Regions from separate parts of the Homo sapiens genome. Here region 1 is linked to region 2. The links are contacts of gene promoters, found by promoter capture Hi-C in human tissues and cell types (Jung and others, 2019). All regions are on one chromosome and are shown on one strand. Each heading gives the region's core, a stretch centred on a gene start or on the middle of the fragment in contact. The rest is flanking DNA. Distances are from core to core; before and after follow the strand shown.

Region 1 (3,053 bases), core at 465-2,964, 950 kb before region 2:
GCAGAGGAGGTACTTAATAAATACAGGCTGACTGAGTAAAAGACTTGTCTTCCTTATCGCTCCTTAGTGAGCATCCAAGACTTCCTGGATCTTGTTCCCCAACACCCACCACCCACATGTCTTGATACTCACCAGGCTCCATCTTGTTGGAGCAGTGGTTAGCAAGAAGCAAGAGCTGACCCCTGGTTCCCCCATCCCCTGTCCCACCCATCCCCACTTCAGTTCAACAGAGCTGCTCAGAGTTCATCTGCTTTACACATTCATGACACCTGGTCACATTTTCTCGCATAACGGTGGCCTCAGCATTTTTTTTAAAAAAAACACTTTAAAATAATTGCCTTTTACAAAATCCCACAAGAGAAATTCGTTTAGAGCCAAGCATCAGAAGAAGTCTTACTTCCCCTAGAAATTTTTTTTTTTTTTTTATCTCAGGCATGTAACTCACATTTCCTTTTTCTTTCTGGCCACCAGGAATTTTAGAGCTAAAATTATTATGTGTGTAAGACCATATGTTATGCTTTATCTGCCTATTAATTCACTGCCCCCACCCTCCTCCTTAGTGTCTATTTTATTTTGTACTTTTGTGGTTTGGATTGTTTTATTTACAATTTTTGTGTTCTATTATACATGTATCTTGTAAGCTGCCTCAAATTATTTATAGAATGAGGTAAATAAGTAAGTACATAAATAAGCAAGCAGACAAATAAAGTATTCATCTGGTACTTTGCAGAGGGTACTGGTACAAGAGTATTTGATATTTTTGTCTTATTCCCTTTGTTATTTTATTTTCCCCAAAGAGTAGCACTTCAATCTGCCCCGAAGCTGTGCACAATGCCTAGCACATAGCAGACATTCGAGGCAGTGTGGGGTCAGATGACACAGGTTCCAAATCCCATCCCTGATACTTTCTCCATGTCTCTGAGTCTCAACTTCTACATCCGTAAAGTGGGGATAATACTAAGATCTCCCTACATAAGGTTCATGTGGAGATTCGTGAGATGTGTGGGGAGAGCTTAGGGCTGAGGTTAGTATACAGACAGTACTCAATGAATGTTAGATATTTGGTCAACAGCTATTTATTGAGCATCAGCTATGTACCTGGCCTCATTCTAGGCTCTAGGATTGCACTAAGAAGCAAGAGAAAGAGAAAAACAATCTGACTTCATGAAGCTTATATGTTAATGAGAGAGAAAGGCATAAAGCAAACTTTTAAAAAATACTATCTAATACGATGGCAGGTACCAGAGAGTAAAGCAACCCAGCTAAGGAGATGGGAAATGAATGCAACCTAGTGGGAGCTATTTGCAAGATGATTAAGGCAGGCTTCTCTGAGGAGGTGACACTGAACCTTGCAGGGGAGAGCTGGATCAGGAAGGATCTGAATGTCAGACTTAGGAGCTTAAAGGTTCCCTGGGATAATAGGGAGCCATTGAAGGATGAGGAGCAGCCAAGTGAGGCACCCACATTGTATTTTAATAACATCACTCTGCATTGGAGACATGGGACAGGGTGTTGCCCTGAGACAGGGCTTTCCTACCTGCTCCAGCTGCTTGATGGTGTTTTCCTGCTGGCTCTGGATTTTCTGTTGCTCAAGGGCGCTGGATTCCAACTTCCAGAGCCTCTCCTTCAAGCCAGCAACGCAATTTTCCCCCAGAGAGGGTGACCCCAGCAGCTCCCGTTTATGGTCCTGTAGCATCTCCACCTGCTGCTTCAGCTGTGAGGCTTCCTGCTCCTTTTGCTACAGAGACAAAGAGGACAGAGATCTGGAGTCACATGAGTATGCCTCCCTCCTCCCCCAGGGATACCTCTACAACCAACTGGGGCTGGAGTGGCGTTTTCCACTTTCCAATGCCTGCCATTTCCACCTGGACCCCACCGTCCCTCACAGCGCCCCCTGTGGGACACCAGCAAGGGCTGCTCTTGGTATAGCTCCTACAGGCATGGAGTTGGGGGTGGGAGGTAGGATTGGAATAAATTGTCCCTAGAGTTCGATCTCAGAGCACCTACAGGAAGGGTTGACCCCATTTGTAAGGGAAGTGGAGGCACACAGCTAAAGCTTCCCTGTGTGCCGTCTGAGGCTGGGATTGAGATGTTGGAGCAGGGAGGCAAAGTGCTCAGAAATGACTCTTCCAGGTTACAAAGTCAGCTCCAGGATCAAATAACTTTGGGCCAGATCGTGAAGGAGTTGAACGCCAGGCTAAAGCGCTCAGAGGTTCTCCTGCGAGTAGTAGAGAACCACAAAAGGATGAGGAGCAGCTGAGTGAGGCACCCGTGTTGTATTTTAGTAAAATCTCTCTGCATTGGAGCCTGCTTGGACCAGGACATTGCTCCTGGACAAGGTTATAGCTAACTCATTCTCTGCTGAGCCTGTTATACCTCCCAGGTAAGCACCTCGGAACCTGTGCAGGTAACTGAAGCAAGATCAAGACATCAATCTTGCTCAAAGTCTGATTATCAATTTACCAGCCACCATTTGCTATTTTATTAAGACACACTGGGATTCAGCTGCTTGACAGACCAGGATACCCTTGTGAAGTTTTCTCTCTGTCACCATTTGCAGCAGGTGCACGATGCAGTTTCCCGAGATTTAGCCACCAAGAGCCAAGATAGCTCTGTGTCCCCCATCCCTTACCTTCAGCTGCTGCTGAAGCTGGCCTAGCTCCCACCGGACACTGGTGTTCTCCTGGGTCACTTTCTCACGGAGACCCTTCTCAAACACTGACTCACCTAGGGCCTGGGCCAGCTGCAGGTCAAACCTGTGCAAAGCAGAGCACGTGTCAGGGCCCCGTAGGCAGGTGGGCAGGGGAGTGATTGAGGCAGGGGCAGGGAGGGGCTGCAGAGAGGCCGCTAGTTTCCCAAGAACCATTAGAAAGAGAGCAAAAGGAAGAAGAGAGATAGAGAAAGTATGAGAAGTTGGAAGTTTTTCTCAATGCTTTTACGTAAGGCTGTGGATGTAGGGTGGGAATCTGAAAAACCACAGAGCAATTTTTAGGGTTGAGGTAGACTTGCCACAGAACTATTCGATATACTTATAATTCTAGATTTCTCCCTCA
Region 2 (2,795 bases), core at 186-2,685:
ATAGCTCTCTAATCCTGCGGTTTCAAAAGATAGCAAGTAGGGTTTCTGGAATCTTTAGATACTGTAAGGCAAGCACAGGGGATGGGGCACGGGAAAGGAGAGGCCATAGACTGAGGGAGGCACTGATACTTATAGAGCCCCTACCTGTTTCATACCCTTCATTCCGATCCATCCTAGGCCAAGCCCATTTTGCCCAGAGGGTCCCCATCTGGATTCAGATAGGTTAAGTGTTTTGCCCAAGGTCACAAAAAAGGTGCAAAGAAAGTGTTTTTCTTTGTGCAACAGGTACAGTCCTTTCCCTTCCAAAAGATAATGGCTGCTCCTGGCTAGAGAAAGTTCAGTCCCGGCAGGCAGGAAGCCCTAGCCACCTAGGCGTCGCGCGGTGGAGGTCACACGCCTGCTCCGGGACTGGACAAACAGCAGGGTTTTAAGGCGCGGCGTCCCCACTCCCAGGCGAGTTTGTGCCAGCAGGGTGTGAAAAGGTCAGGCTCGGGTGGGGGTCAACGAGCCGCTTCCCATCCCGAGGGCCCCACCCGTGAGCCCGGGTGGGCCGCGCCGCCATCGGGGCGGGGACCACGCGGGCCTGCCTGGTAACAGGGGGACTGAGGCTTAATCCCATCAGGGCGCCTCCGCCCTGGGAAGACGAGCGGAGGGGGGGCGCAGGCCAGGCCGAGAGGACGTGTCCGGAGCCTCCGCGTCCGAGGGGCCCCGCGCGCCGCCCCTCTCACGCCCCCCGAACCACCGCGCTGTCCTCCGGGCTCCCCTCGACCAGGGTTCCGTCTCGCTCGCCGCCCTTGCTTCCCACTTCCACCTCCGGGGCCTCCAACCCGCACAAATGTCCAGACCCTAGCAGCTCCAGGCTGAGTAACCCAGATCTCCAGCGATCCCTCAGCTCCTAGCCACGGGATCTCTCTGAATCCATTCCCAAGGCTCAGGCTGGCATGGGAGGAGATTGATCCTCTCGCTCCCAGTCTCGAATCACCCTTCGCCGTCACCCCTGACTGGGGATCCAGTGGGACCCCAGGCCTCCAGCGCCCGATCCCCTCCAGGGATCGACTCCCAAGTCGCCAACCAGGTGGCACGTGATCCATTGGTTGCCCTGTGCGGGATCTTCCCGCGGGATCCACTCTCAAGTCTCGGGAGACGGATTCCCCGGCTCCCAAACCGGGATCCTCCCTCCCTGCAGACCCGGAGTCTGGGGAAATCCTCCGGCTCCCCGCCTCTTCCCCGGCCAACTTTGCCAACTTTTCTCCCGGGGCCTCGGCCGGGCAGAAACTTGGCGGCCCTCGCCAGCCGCCGTCACCCCCAGCTACCTCGTCGGCCGGGGACAGGAGGCGGCCAGCCGGCCCCCACTGCCCGCAGCCGCTGCGCAACCTACCGTGGAGCCACCGCCAGCCCGCGCCGCGCCGCCACCTGCCCGCAGCCCGCGGCACCTGCCCTGGGAGCCCGCAGCCCCGCGCAGCCTAGCCTGCTGGGGGCGGGGCCTCGAGCGGGGACGCGCCCCCGTCACCATGGGAACTGCCGCCGGCCGCGCCTGCGCGGAGGGGAGCAGAGCAGGCAGGACCCGAGTCCGCAGTGGCGCCTGGGCCTGGGACCTCTCCGGCGGGTCAGAGGTCACGACTCGCTTGGACACCCCTGCCGGAAGCGCTCCCGCCCCTCGAGGCCCGACCCCGCTCTGTCCAATTGGGAACTTTGCTCCGGGTACCCTCCCGCGTTCCCTGGATGTTCCCCAGTCACCAGCCAGGATCCCCCGCCACCGGCACCGACCCGCTGCCCAGCCGGCGACCCCGAGAGCCTAATGCAACCCAGGATTTCAGGAGGCGCTCCATAAATGTGGGCCCACTGACTTGCCTGGGCTGCTGGTGCCGGCCCGGGGGCGGGCAAGGTCTGTGCGCGGTGCTGGCGCCTCCTCGCGCCAAGCAAGGGCACTGCACCTGAGAGTTCGCTGGAGCGCCTACTGTGTGCGCATCCTCCTGCCATTATGTTGTGGGTGTGAGTTGTGGGGTAATGGGTACAGGAACTTGTGGACAAGTTGAGAGAATCGTAGGAAGTCGCCTCTGAAAGAGAAAATACCTGTTCTGTTATCCGTTACTCATTTCATTCAGCAGATCTTTATTAAGCACCTATTGCATGCTGGGTGCTGGAGAACCCAGTGGTGGGCAGCTGGCAAAATCCAGGCTGTTGTGCAGCTTACAGATATTCAAACAAATAATTTCACGAGTATATCAAATTGAATCTGTGACATGTGCTCCTATGGGAAATGTACAGAGCATGAATAACTGGAGGACCTAAAATCAATGTGCCTTTATTATAAGCAAGATAGACCTCAATAAAAAAAGAGAAAGAAAAGGACATCACAGGCTGCGCACGGTGGCTTGTAATCCCAGCATTTTGGGAGGCCGAGGCGGGTGGATCACCTGAGGTCATGAGTTTGAGACCAGCCTGGCCAACGTGGTGAAACCTCGTCACTACTAAAAATTACAAAAATTAGCTGGGCGTGGTGGCGGATGCCTGTGATCCCAGCTACTCGGGAGGCTAAGGCAGGAGAATGGCTTGAACCCGGGAGGTGGAGATTGCAGTGAGCCAAGAGCGCGCCACTGCACTCCAGCCTGGACGACAGAGCAAGACTCCATCTCAAAAAAAAAAAAAAGAAAAAGACATCACATTGTGTGGCTTCAGGAGGATTGGTGGGGAGACTTCTTGCCTCATTTTGCTCTTAAATTGTTGGGTGTGTGTAAGAAACAAGGGTAGCTCCTGTTCTCCACACCGTTTGCACTGCAACCCTTTTGAAGGTC

What was found. Contacts are between HindIII fragments. The study calls those that stand out against the background at their distance.
Region 1: a contact is called between a fragment that was not itself captured here and the fragment with the promoter of KIAA1671 in region 2, in 2 of the 25 tissues and cell types used here (lymphoblastoid cells and spleen).

Annotation. Positions count from the first base shown.
Region 1 is chr22:25,902,316-25,905,368 of GRCh38, reverse strand. It overlaps MYO18B (myosin XVIIIB), which reads right to left. Exons shown (of 44, transcript NM_032608.7): 30 at 2,633-2,756; 31 at 1,538-1,738. Among named protein-coding and RNA genes, the nearest start is that of MYO18B-AS1, 3.9 kb to the right of the region's middle. The HindIII fragment of the contact is 3,439 bases long and covers 1-3,053 here.
Region 2 is chr22:24,951,356-24,954,150 of GRCh38, reverse strand. It overlaps KIAA1671, which reads right to left and starts at 1,435. Exons shown (of 13, transcript NM_001145206.2): 1 at 1,379-1,435. RefSeq lists a silencer at 1,369-1,618. The HindIII fragment of the contact is 5,810 bases long and covers 1-2,795 here.